Regions from separate parts of the Homo sapiens genome. Here region 2 is linked to region 1. The links are contacts of gene promoters, found by promoter capture Hi-C in human tissues and cell types (Jung and others, 2019). All regions are on one chromosome and are shown on one strand. The core of a region is centred on a gene start or on the middle of the fragment in contact, and the rest is flanking DNA. Distances in the headings are between cores, read along the strand shown.

Evidence for each region. Contacts are between HindIII fragments. The study calls those that stand out against the background at their distance.
Region 2: a fragment that was not itself captured here is called in contact with the fragment with the promoter of EGFL7 in region 1 in 1 of the 25 tissues and cell types used here (dorsolateral prefrontal cortex).

Annotation. Positions count from the first base shown.
Region 1 is chr9:136,659,428-136,665,860 of GRCh38, forward strand. EGFL7 (EGF like domain multiple 7) reads left to right here and starts at 3,489. Exons shown (of 11, transcript NM_016215.5): 1 at 3,489-3,681; 2 at 3,981-4,196; 3 at 5,265-5,358. It overlaps LNCEGFL7OS (lncRNA EGFL7 opposite strand), which reads right to left and starts at 994. Exons shown (of 2, transcript NR_135132.1): 1 at 894-994. The HindIII fragment of the contact is 17,984 bases long and covers 1-6,433 here.
Region 2 is chr9:136,447,265-136,454,322 of GRCh38, forward strand. It overlaps SEC16A (SEC16 homolog A, endoplasmic reticulum export factor), which reads right to left. Exons shown (of 32, transcript NM_014866.2): 21 at 6,845-7,058; 22 at 6,164-6,246; 23 at 3,992-4,144; 24 at 820-897; 25 at 589-645; 26 at 305-416; 27 at 1-100. Among named protein-coding and RNA genes, the nearest start is that of INPP5E, 11 kb to the left of the region's middle. RefSeq lists an enhancer at 383-1,582. The HindIII fragment of the contact is 4,836 bases long and covers 1-4,228 here.

The sequences.
Region 1 (6,433 bases), core at 2,239-4,738:
CTCCCGCGGCCGCGCCTGGTGCCCCTCTGTCTCGCGCCACCTGAGATGCCCAGGCTGGCCTCTGCCAGGGGCTTAGTCTGCCCTCTCCTGGGGCTTCAGAGGCCAAAAGCACCCTGGTGAGGGGTCCGGGAGGCCCGGGAGGGCCCGGGGGGCTCTGCCAGGCCCCTCCACGCCTCTCTGCCCAGCCAGCACGCTCTGGGAAGGTAAGGCAGCCCTTCCCCTTATAACTAACCTCAGAACATTCCCAGGTGGCTGGAAGGCCACTGGACAACATGGCCCTGCTGACAAGAGAGACAATGGGGAAACTGAGGCCTGTGTGGGGCACAAAGCTGGGACCAGAGCTCCAGCTTCCTGCCCCTGCCGGGCCTCCACCTCTGACACCACCCCAGGCAGGGTGAAGCCCTGGGCTCCAGACCTTCCAGTGCCCAGATGAGGACAGGCGCAGGCCTTGGGGTGGCCACACTCTCCCACCAGGTCTCCCCCTCTGTGCTGGGCCCCTGAGGTGAGGGGAGGAGGCCAGGCGTGGGGCCCGGCCTGGCTTCTGTGGGGCTGGAGCCTGGGCAGGAGGCACTGCTGACTCCCAAAATGATTCCCTGCTGAAGGTCTGTGCCATGATCCCAAACACACACCACCAGAGCGGCCAGGGCAGGGAAGGGGGCACCTCCAAGGACCGGAGGGTGAGGGAGGGGCCCGCCTGCCCCTTGCTGAGCCCCTGGGCCTTGGGCACAGAGTGTGCTCCACCCATACCAGAACCCGGGGGCAGCCCCAACCCCCTGGACCCCCAGTACCCTCTGGCGTCCAAGAACCCATGTCTGTCCCCTGCCAACCCCCCGCCCCTCCTGTCCCCGCTGGGCCCCCGACATTAGGGCAAGGCCGCAGCCCACCTCCTGTACCTGCCTCTGAGGCTCCAGGAGCCCAAGAGAGTGGAGTGCCCCTCCTGTGGTGGCTCCAGGCTATGGGATAGGGCAAAGCTGGCACTCTGGGCCTGAGCCCAGGCCTCCTTCCCTTGGGGAGGGTCTAGTCTTGGCCTGGGGAGGGGCTGGGGGCAGGGCAGAGCTTATCAGGAGGGGGTTGCAGTGAAGAACAAGTTGGCAGCAGGCGGTGCCCAGCCCCCCAGGCTGTCACCCAGGAGTCCAGTGCCAGGAGGACAGCCTGGGGAGGACGCAGACTCTGCCCTCGCCCCTTGCCTGTAAGCACAGCAGTCAGTTCACCGGGAAGGCCCCCAGCGGGCCAAGCCTTAGCAACTCGTGCACTCGGCTACTTAGCTATTCCTGCCCCGAGCTGTCCCCTGGCCGGATAGGTCTGATGACAGGGGCTGCTCCAGGTTGGGACATAGGACAAGCTGGGGTGGGGGACATGGGGCTCCCCAAGAAGAGGAAGGAAGGGTGAGGCAGCCTCCTGTGCCGAGCATCCCAGCCCTGTCCGGCCTCCAGGCTCACCTGGGCCGGTCACTTCTCCCTCTGGGCCTCAGTTTCCCCCTCTGTACACAGAAAGGGCTGGATCTAGCCCACCCCATGCTTGTGGGTCCTTCCACCAGGAGGCCAGGGCAGATCCAGGGGCATGCAGGTGGGGGAGGAGGGGGCAGGCCGCAGGGATGCAGGCAGAGGGCAAGAGGGCACCTCCTGGGATGGGGGCACAAGCCTACTGGGCCCCTATACGGTGGAGTAGCTAAGTAGCCGAGTGCACGAGTTGCTAAGGCTTGGCCCGCTGGGGGCCTTCCCGGTGAACTGACTGCTGTGCTTACAGCCAGGGGCGAGGGCAGAGTCTGGGTCCTCCCCAGGCTGTCCTCCTGGCACTGGACTCCTGGGTGACAGCCTGGGGGACTGGGCCCGGCCTGCTGCCAACTTGTTCTTCACTGCAACCCCCTCCTGACAGCTGGAGGGACAGGCTGGCCAGGGCAGGATGAGCCCCTGGGTGGGAGAGCCAGGGGGCCGAGGGAGGCACAGGGCGGCTGAGGGTGCAGCCAGTAGGGTAAGGGCCAGATCCCAGGGTGGCCTAGTGTGGAGGAGGTGGGGAAATGGGGTTCTGCCTATCTGCTCCAACCTCAGGGCAGGGGCCACCTCTGGAAAGAGGCCCCTCCCGCTCAGACCAGCGGTGCCTGGGTGCCAGGAGCGCCCCCTTAAACCAGCTCAGTGACCATGAAGCAGGTGCAGAAACAGGCCCGGAGAAGAGTGAGGTCCTGCCTGGCTGAGGCCCTGAGCCCTGACCACAGCCTGGCGCCCAGAGCAGACCCTTCCCCTGGCCGTGGGTAGAGGGGAGCTGGTTCCTGCTTGAGGGGGAGGCGCATCGCGTGTGGGTGAGGTTTCCACCTGCCCTCCAAAGTCCCGTGGGGAATTTCCCCAGCTGCCCCAGCCTCCCTTGGCTCAAGTTGCCCAGCTGAGTGGGGCTGGAGAGGTGGGGGCACACTGACCGCCCAGGGCCAGGGAAATGGGGGTGTCCCAGGCATCAGGCCGACAGGGGCTGACCCCAAAGCAGGGCTCACACCCCACGGACAGCGGGGTTGGGAGAGGCCCTGCTCTCCTGGGGTTCCAGGCGTGCCCTCCAAAGCCACCCAGCTCCCTTCGGCACCGTGTCCCCTCCCACCCAGCCCACCTTTGCCACAGTGGCTCGCTCGGCCTGAGGCTCCCACTGCCGTGTGAACAGGGAAGATGAGGGTCAGACCTGGAGGCTGGGACGCCGGGAATCTGACAGAGCACCCCCTGTGATCACCCACAGTGTCCCGCATCCCTCCCCACACCCCCGGCCGCAGCCTGCTGCCAGCCCAGAGCACCCCTGTGAAGTGGGGCTGAGGGCATTGGGCCTGCTTGCCCATCTCCAGGGCAGGGGCTCACAGCCTCACTGGCAGCTCTTTTAGGGGAGAGAGCTTGGACTCCATGCTTGTCCCCTCCCGTCACCCCCTCACCATGGGCCTCAGGGACCCACGGAACAGGCTGTTCTCGGACCGCTCAGCCTGTCTTGCCACCCCAGTCCCTTCCTGCCGGGCCTCGCCACTCGCCATCCCTCACTGGTCAAGGCTCCTGTGTGGCTGGTCCCTGCCTTGGCCTGGGGCCCCTCCAAGCTCCCGTGCTGTGTCACACACATCTGGGGGTGTCCTGGGGGAGGGCCCAGCATCCTTGGCCCAAAGATGCAGCAGCTCCCTTCTGTCCAGCCACACGTGAGCATGGCCTGTGAACCCACGGTCCTGGGAGGGCCCTGGGCTTGCGTCCTCCACCCCACACTCTCCCCAGGGTCTCCAGCAGGGTCCAGCCCTGGTTTCTGGCTGTTTTGGGGCTAGACTCTGATGGCCCAGGGGACGGCTTCCCCACCCCTGGGCAGTTTGTCCAGGCCCCCTCACACGGTGGCCCCCACCCCCCTCAGCCTCCTGTTTGTCCGACGACACGTCCCCGTTATCAGCGGAGAACACACACAGGAAGTCCGGCTGGGAAGGGCCCATCCCAATCCCGATTACCCAGGACGGAGCATAAAAAGCCGCCCTTCCTCGCCCGGGGGGAGCCTCCCTGCACCAAGCTGGCCCTGCACGGCTGCAAGGGAGGCTCCTGTGGACAGGCCAGGCAGGTGGGCCTCAGGAGGTGCCTCCAGGCGGCCAGTGGGCCTGAGGCCCCAGCAAGGGCTAGGGTCCATCTCCAGTCCCAGGACACAGCAGCGGCCACCATGGCCACGCCTGGGCTCCAGCAGCATCAGGTATGGCAGGGGTGGCCTCGGAGGGGCAGGGAGCGGACAGGGCGGGCCCCCCATTCCCCTCACTCCCGCTGACCGTGGCGCCTGCTGGCTGCTCCGCAATCTGCTCCCCAGCGAGGTCACAGGGGAGGGGTCCCAGTCTCCTCCCCTTCTGCACAGAGGAGGCCACTGAGGCCCCTTGGCCAAACGCCTGCTAGTGGGTGGCCCAGCGTAGATCCCAATCCAGTCTGCTGACTCCAACACTTCACCCCCAGTCGCCCTTCCCCTGAACCCCACCCTCTGGCCTTTCTCTCCCTCCGCAGAGCAGCCCCTGTGGTTGGCAGCAAAGTTCAGCTTGGCTGGGCCCGCTGTGAGGGGCTTCGCGCTACGCCCTGCGGTGTCCCGAGGGCTGAGGTCTCCTCATCTTCTCCCTAGCAGTGGATGAGCAACCCAACGGGGGCCCGGGGAGGGGAACTGGCCCCGAGGGAGAGGAACCCCAAAGCCACATCTGTAGCCAGGATGAGCAGTGTGAATCCAGGGTGCGGGACGTGGGGCTCGGGCTTAGGGATGACTTGCTGGGTGCGGTGGGCAAATGGGTGACTCTGTGGGCCCCCCTTGGACCCTGGAGACGCCCTTGTTCTCCCTCTCCCCAGCCTCATGCAGAGTGGCTGAAGCCCCATCCCAAAGCCCCCAAAACCACAGTGGGTCCTAGAAGGCCCCACTTTTTGTCTCATACGTCCACACCAAGAAGCCTGTCTGAGAACCCCCACTTTCCAAATGGTGCCTAGCCAGGATGGGGGCAGCGAGGGCTGAGTCGGGGCAGCCCTGGAGCTGCCCTTTCTGCTCCATCGCCTCTTCCAGACTCAGGCAGGAGAGGTGGGGAGGCAGGTCAAAGGGTTAAGTGACCGCAGATCCAGAGATGAGGCCAGGGGCAGGGGACAGGGAGGGTGGCGGTGGCTCTCCCACCCAGAGGCCCCCTAGGCCCCACTCTGAACACTTCACTGCTGGGGGCTAGGTAAGAGCTGCCCTGCGTGGGCTCAGGGCGCCAGGAGGCCTAGGACTCCCCAGTCAGATGAGGAACGCCCCCTGACAGCAGCTGCTCTGGTCGTCCCTTGGACCACGTGCCAGGGGCTTCCAGGGCCCCTGGTCCAGAGCAGTGGCCACTGGATTGCAGGGTGGGGCGGCCTCATTTTGGGGACTCCTCTCCAGGGACCTGGGCCCCTCCCTTCCTCCAGCTCCCATGCACCAAGGTAGGACCAAGCTGGTGGCCCTCTCGGACCCATCTGCAGGCCCCTTGCCCAGCACCCTGGGTTACATGGAGAGACCTCCAGCTCCACTCACAGCAGCCTCCCATCCCCATGCCAGGGAGTCCAGGGCTGGAGGCAATAACCCCATTTTACTGAGGCCAGGGGCTGCGGATCCGAGAGGACAATCAGCTCAGGACAGGATGGGGTCGGGGTAGGTGCAGGACAGGGGCCTGTAGGCCTAGTGCAGGCGGAGGTCCCACAGCAGCACCGAAAGCTGGTCCCGGGCCCCTTCCCAGCCCCCAGACATCAGGGTGACCAGGACTGTGCATAGGCACTAACCCACAACTCCTCTCCAACCAGCAGCCCCCAGGACCGGGGAGGCACAGGTGGCCCCCACCACCCGGAGGAGCAGCTCCTGCCCCTGTCCGGGGGATGACTGATTCTCCTCCGCCAGGTGAGTCCCAGCAAACCCCTTGCTCCGAGGGAACACTTCTCACACCGGCGCCCACGCGGGTTATGACACAGGGCGCTGGCTCCGGCTGGGGTCTGAGGGGCTGCTGAATTGGGCTGGCCCGAGCCCCACGTGCCGCGCCCGCAGTAACAGCTGTAACAATTGTTGTGTGGCCACGACCTCACCGTCACTAGATCCCAGGGCTGTTTAGCCCCATCTTATAAATTTGGAAATGGAGGCCTGGAGAAGAGAGGTGACCAGCCCAGGGACCTCTGGTGTGAGGAGACTCTCTGGGGGCCTGTGGATTCGCTGGGAGGAGTGTTCTGCGATGGCCCTGACTGTGCTGAACTCAGCAGTGACCCAGTGACCCCGGTGAGGGTGCCTGATGCCTGAGAGAGGGCCAGGTGGGGGCCGGCGCAGGGGCCCCCAACCTAACACGCTAAGGCTAGGAGGCAGGCCTGGGCTCTGCCATGTGGTCTCAGAGGAGATCTGGGTCTCTGGGCCTGCGGTGGGGACGGTCATGATGCCCACTGCCTGCGAGGCTGCAGGACCCAGCTCAGTGCTAACCTGCGCCGGGCGCCTACCGCGCGGCCCCCCAGCGGCTGAGATGGGCGTCCCGGGGTGGTTTTCAGCCTGGGGGGCTTGAAAGCTAGCAAAGGGCCCGCAGCCCCGTCAGTGTGGGCGCCCTGGGCGGCCTCTCCTGGCTCCTGGCGGCCGGGCTTGGTCGTGCGTCCCCAGCGACCGCGCAGCGAGCGCCCTGCCGCGGGGACTCGGGCCCCAGGATTCCCGGAGGGGGTGCTGGCGGGCCGCGGCTCAGAGGCGCGTTTGCGTCAGCCCCGGGTTCCAGCAGAGTCACTGCCCGCCCGGGGGCAGCTCGTCCGCCGCGGGGCCTCAGTTTCCCCGTCTGCGCAATGGGGGCGGGGCGGGGCCGCCAGGTGGGGCGGGGCCGGGGGCGGGGCGGGGCGGGGCTCGGGGCCCCCACGGCGCGGGCTCGGGCGGCAGTGGCGGCGGCGCGTGCGCGCCCCGGATCCGGCGGTGAGTGCGGAGCGAGCGGGGCGCGCCGGGGTCGGGGTCCGGT
Region 2 (7,058 bases), core at 561-3,060, 210 kb before region 1:
GGCGCGAGTGGAGCGACAAAGTCCGCAGGAGCGAGAGCCGGCTCGCTCCGCTGGGTCCCGCTTGGGTTCAGGACGTCAACGTAGCGAGCTCTGGTTCCTGCTGCAAAGGGGAGGGAAGCAAATTGAGGTGAACGCGCCAGGTGGCCTCCAGCTTCCAAATGCTCTGCGCTCACTGCGTCAGAGGAAAAGCACGCAGGGACGTGCGGGAAGCCACCTCCTCCCCACGCACAACAGCTACACATTGGCCTCTCTCTCTGGGACAGTTAATCGTTCAAGCAAGCTCCCACTCCAAGGCCACCCTTACCTGCTCTTCTAGAGTACATGTTCACGGGGGCTCCAGGAGGCCCTGGGAGGGCAGGCGGGGCAGCTTGCACAGTCTTGGGCATCGAGGTTGGAGGTGGGGGCGGGGCTTTCTTCTGCAGAGGGAAACACAGCTTCAGACACCCACTGTGTGCACAGAAACCCACTGGGATGGCACAGTCAGGAGGCTCCAAAAGGGGCAACAGCCACCCAAATATCACAGGGCCACATGAGGCTGTTCCCTCCACTCACACCTCACACCCAACAGGAACTAGAATGACAATTTACCTCCTCTTCTGGCTCATTTAAATTCACCCACTGGTTTTTCTTTTCATCCCAAACAATCTGCCAAGATTTTAAAAAGAAAAAAGGTCAGCAGACTGAACCTAAACAGAATTAGCATCTGATTAATGATGACACTTCAAAACTTCAGGAAACACCTACTCAGGTCTGCTCTGAAAGTGACAGAAAAATCATTACAATTCTTCGGACGTCCCGTGCGTATTTGACAGCACTCACCGATTTGTTCTTGTCATCTGGCAAATAAGCTTCTGTCTTTTTCTTTCCAGGTAGCCAACGAAAGAACCAGGATTCACCCTAAATATAAAAAACACGAGAACAACTTTGAAAACATTATGTTCCATGAAATAAGCCAGGGCAAAAAGACAAATTCTACATGACCCACTTCTGTGAGGCCCCAGAGTCGCCAGATCCACAGAGACACCAGGAGAATGGAGGTGGGAGCAGATCCACAGAGACACCAGGAGGATGGAGGTGGGGAGCAGATCCACAGAGACACCAGGAGGATGGAGGTGGGGGGCGATCCACAGAGACACCAGGAGGATGGAGGTGGGGGGCGATCCACAGAGACACCAGGAGGATGGAGGTGGGAGCAGATCCACAGAGACACCAGGAGGATGGAGGTGGGGGGCAGATCCACAGAGACACCAGGAGGATGGAGGTGGGAGCAGATCCACAGAGACGCCAGGAGGATGGAGGTGGGGAGCAGATCCATAGAGACACCAGGATGGAGGTGGGGAGCAGATCCAGACACACCAGGAGGATGGAGGTGGGGAGCAGATCCACAGAGACACCAGGAGGATGGAGGTGGGGAGCAGATCCAGAGACACCAGGAGAATGGAGGTCGGGGGCAGATCCACAGAGACACCAGGAGGATGGAGGTGGGGGGCAGATCCACAGAGACACCAGGAGGATGGAGGTGGGGAGCAGATCCACAGAGACACCAGGAGGATGGAGGTGGGAAGCAGATCCAGAGACACCAGGAGGATGGAGGTGGGAGGGAACCGGGAGTTGTTTCGTTTCAAGGAGACAGAGTTTCTGTTTGGGAAGGTGAGACAGTTCTGGAGATGGATGGTGGTGATGGCAACACAACAGTGTGAATGTACTTGGTGCCACAGAACTGTGCACTCAGAAAATGGTAAAAATGTGCATTTTGTTCTGTGTATTTTACTGTCATTTAAATAGGTCAGAACAGTAACGTGCCTTCAGGAACTTTTTACGTCTAAACACTGACAAAGCTTCCGACGTCCTCCCCTTTGAGAAGTGGAAGGCGGGCTGTCCAAGTCAGTGTGTGTCGGAGGCAGATACAGCCCTCTGTGTTTCCCATGTGTGGAGAATTCGGTTATTAGGAAACTTTACTTTATTCTTCACATGATGCACTTCATTTTGGTTTGTTAGTTTTCTGAGACAGAGTCTCGCTCTGTCCCCCAGGCTGGAGTGCAATGGCGCGATCTCGGCGCACTGCAACCTCTGCCTCCCGGGTTCAAGTAGTTCTATGCCTCAACCTCCTGAGTAGCTGGGATTACAGGCACCCACCACCATGCATGGCTAATTTTTGTATTTTTAGTAGAGATGGGGTTTCACCATCTTGGCCACGCTGATCGTGAACTCCTGACCTCATGATCTGCTCGCCTCAGCATCCCAGAGTGCTGGGGTGACAGGCGTGAGCCGCCGCACCCTGACTCCCAGAATGCTGGGGTGACAGGCAGGAGCTGCTGCGCCCGGCCTCCCAGAGTGCTGGGGTGACAGGTGTGAGCCGCCATGCCCGGCCTGATGCACTTCACTTCTACTGAAGAAAGAGGAGAAGCCTCAGCAGCTACTACACACCCTCAATTCTGTTTCTCTGTGAGTTCTACTGGCCAGACAAGCTGTCCCGGGGAGGCCTGTGATAGCCTATGCACTGGAAACCTGCTCAAGTATCATGTTTTATCTCAGAGCTCACACAAATTTGGAATTAAATGTGTGTTTATTTTCAAGACAGCAGCCATAAAAGAAAAATCTGATCACTGAACTTTATTAAAATGAAGAATGATATTTTTCATAAAATACCATTACTAGGCCGGGCATGGTGGCTCACACCTGTAATCCCAGTACTTTGGGAGGCCAAGGCAGGCAGATCACTTGAGGTCAGGAGTTTGAGACCAGCCTGGCCAACATGGTGAAACCCCATCTCTACTAAAAATACAAAAAATTAGCTGGGAGTGGGGTGGGCACCTGTAATCCCAGCTACTGGAGAGGCTGAGGCAGGAGAATTGCTTGAACCTGGGAGGCGGAGGTTGCAGTGAGCCAAGATCATGCCAATGCACTCCAGCCTGGCTGACAGAGTGAGACCCTGTCTCAAAACAAACAAACAAACAAACAAACAAAAAACCATTACAAGTAAAAAGGCAATCTACAGATTGGGAGAAGATATCACAATAAATACACCTAACAGAGGACTTATATCCATAATACAGAAAGGACTCCTGCAAGTCCTGAAGAGAACACCATTAAAAATGGAAAGGAAAGCCAGGTGTGGTGGCTACACCTGCAGTCCCAGCTACGAGGCAGGAGGATCACTTGGGCCCAGGAGTTTGAGACCAGCCTGGGCAATAGTGAGACCCCATCTTTATGGGGGAAAAAAAAAACAACGGATAGAGACTTGAACAAGCACTGCCCCAAAAGAGTGGTGAGATGGTAACAGGGACACGAGAAGGTGCCCAGCGTCACACCTCGCTGTGGAGATGCAGAGGAAGACACAATGAGATGTCATCAGCCCCAGCACAATGGCTAAGTTAAAGAACCGGCACTGCCCAGTATTGGTGAAGATGAGGGATATCCAGGGCCCTTGTCCTCTGCTGCAGGATGTGTGACTTGGGGCAACCAACCATTTAGGACAACTGCTCAGCAGTGTCTCCTAAAGCTGAACACACGCTCATCCTGCGAGCTAAACCCTCAGCTCCTTGGCACGCACCTAAGAAAAACAAGCGCATTCGCCAATAGATAGGCAAGGAGGCTCCTGGGGCCTGACGGATCCCAGCCCCACACTGAAAGCAGTCCCAAAGTCCACGGCTGGGAGAAAGGATCTGTGAGCCGGCAGCAGGCACACACCACAGTGACAAAGCAGCGGCTGCCGTCTGGTCCCTTGCGGGTGGGTCTGACAGGTAGTGGCCAGAGGCGACCTCTGGGGGCCGGGCTGTGTCCCCATGCTGACCTGGGTGGGCTATTATCCTATTATCTGAAGGCACAAATACACAGACACCCATCATGCCGTGTGCACTGTAGACACTCGGCTGTTTGTATCAGGAGGCTATTTGCATGTGTGGTGAATTAAGAGGATGGCGCTCTGGGAAGCGTGCCTCCTGCCCAAACCCTCCCGGCCGCCAGGCGCACCGTGGGCAGGCTGTACTACCTTCTTAGGTTCCTTCGTTTCTTTCTTGGCTGCCTGTCCGGGTCTCTTTGTTTCGGGAGCGGGTGAGAGAGACAGAGGTGGCTGCGTGGGACCCGAGTCGGCACGATCCCACCCTGGGGGGGCCTCCGAGTCTGGCACCGTCCTCGAGGGGGTCTGTCGCAAGGAAATGCAGAACAGGCTCTCCTGGGGCTCCTCACAGGAACCGAAAGAGAGAGGGGGATGCAATTCCCCAGGCGTGTTTCCTAAATACATCACTGAGAGGCCGGATGACTCTGGTGACCAGAGGGAGGCAGGAAGGGGGCTGGGGAGAGCAGCCCCCTGACTGGGCCTCCCAGAGCCTCTACCTGGCCTGACTAGAGAAGAGCCAGCCGCACTTAATAAGCAGCTCCGTCTGGGAGCACTCAGCACTCAGAATGCAAATGAGGGCGTTCGATGGAGATTCCGGGCTGGAAGAAACGGAGTGTGAGCATGCACTGAGGGAAGACTGGCCAGAGGGGGGCGATGGGTGTTCTCAAAGATACAATGATTTTTAAAAATATTTATTCCTGGGTCAAGTCCCAATTTTTAATAGCTCAACCCTCATTTTTACTTTTCCAGGGACACAGTATTTTAAAGGGTAAAACACCTAATGCAAGTTCAAACTATAGCAATCGCCTACTGATGGGATGCCCGTGAAGGGCTGGGTATCTGTAAAGAAGGTTCCAGAATGCGGTCTGTATAAAAGCAACCATCCCTCCTGGTTAGGAGTAGAGCAAACAGAGGAGGTATTTATACCAAACATGTCTAATGAGATAAATCTCACTTTCAGGAAAACCAGTGACAATGTTAGAAATTCTACTGAATTCCAGGACATCCTCTTGTGAGATCAAAAAATTAGAAAAGAAATTCTACTGTAGAAAAAGAGACGGCCGGGCTGGGCGGGGTGGCTCATGCCTGTAATCCCAGCACTTTGGGAGGCTGAGGCAGGTGGATCATGAGGTCAGGAGTTCAAGATCAGCCTGGCCAAGATGGTGAAACCCCATCTCTACTAAAAATACAAAAAAAAATGAGCTGGGTGTGGTGGTGGGCGCCTGTAGTCCCAGCTACTCAGGAGGCTGAGGCAGAGAATTGCTTAAACCTGGGAGGCAGAGGATGCAGTGAGCCAAGATCGCACCACTGCACTCCAGGCTGGGCGACAGAGAGAAACTCCATCTCAAAAAAAAAAAAAAAAAAAAAAAAAAAAAGAGATGGCCAGGTGCAGTGGTTCACACCTTAATCCCAGCACTTTGGGAGGCTGAGGCAGGCAGATCACTTGAGGTCAGGAGTTCGAGACTAGCCTGGCCAACATGGCGAAACCCTGTCTCTACCAAAAAATACAAAAAATTAGCCAGGCATGGTGGCACATGCCTGTAGTCCCAGCTACTTGGGAGGCTGAGGCTGGAGAATCACTTGAACCTGGGAGGCGGAGGTTGCAGTGGCCAAGATGGCGCCACTGCATTCCAGCCTAGGCGACAGAGCGAAACTATGTCTTAGGGAAAAAAAAAAAAAAAAAAAAAGGCCAGGCTTGGTGGATCACACCTGTAATCCCAGCACTTTGGGAGGCTGAGGCGGGTAGATCATGAGGTCAGGAGTTTAAGACCAGCCTGGCCAACATGGTGAAACCCCATCTCTACTAAAAATACAAAAACTAGCCGGGCATGGTGGCACACACCTGTAGTCCCAGCTACTTGTGAGGCTGAGGCACAGAACTGCTTGAACCCAGGAGGTGGAGGTTGCAGTGAGCCGAGATCGCACCACTGCACTCAAGCCTGGGCGACAGAGCAAGAATCTGTCTCAAAAAAAAAAAAAAGAAAAAAAAAAGAAAAAGAGATGTAGAAATCAGAGAAGGTACCCATTTTGGAAGAATTAAAATTAATAAGGGGATTTCATGATATTTGGGTATTTCTTCTACTTAAAGTAACTGTTTTTACACTACTGAATTCTCTCTTCCCCATCTTTCCCTGCCAGTGTTTTCACCAACTCTTCATATTTTAAGGATGAAAGCTATTTAGAAGCACTTTCACTTTAAGAAACAATTTTAGAAACAATTTCATAGTCCTCACTACCATCATCTTACAACTCAACAAGGAGTCTGGGTGCCCACTCGATGAACTTTATGGAAAACAAACAGTTTAAGAAAATGTGACAAAGTACCAGATTAGCAAATTTTCCATCAAAATTTTCTTCGCTTAGCTCGGAAAGTGAGTTTCCAACAGGCGCCTCCTGCGGCACTATCCCTGTCAACGGGAAAGAGAGCAACTATGATCTCAGTCACGAGAAGGCGGGACGTGTGTGTGGCGCACAGATCAACAGGCACACCACCTTCCCACCCAGCTACCGCCACACCAGCATGATCTGCAGAAACCAAGGCTGAACATCTTCCCACATGTGTGCACACTCTTTCATTTTTAAAACTAGGCCTATGTTTTGCTTTGTCCATATACACACATGTAGACATAGGCACAGACCAGGGACAAGATCCACCAAATCGAGTTCCAGACAGTTCATGACCTGCCCCTGTGCATCTCACCAGGCGTCCAGCAGGGCCGTCTAAAGACAGACCCCAGGAGACCCATGGCCACCATGCCCTGCCCCAAATGGCCATTTAAGCTTCACAACAAAAAGCCAAGTTACAAAAGGAACTGGCATTAACACTGCTGTTGTAGTGAGACTCTGAACCCATCCAGTCTGTAACTTCCAGAATTTCTGGTCTACGTTAAGACAAGTAATGTAAGTTGTTTCAAGCTCAAATAACTTCAATCTCTTCCACCAATCCCCACAAACACCACACCCCATGCTGCTTCTGCTCTCGAGACAGCATCTCTGCAGCCCCACCTGGGTCTGGGCTCCTGGCTTCCTGGAGCAAGTGTCTCCTTTCCTGCAGAGGTGGCACACCAGGTGGGAGGCCAGGCCCGGAGGGCTCCAGGAAGCCAAGTGCAGGCCCTGGGGTCACACAGCCAGGACCCGGCTCCAGGGGCCCCGGGGGCAGTGGCACTGGGAACATCGGCACTCTGGCAGGACTGGCCAATGGGCCGTCAGGGAGCGTCTG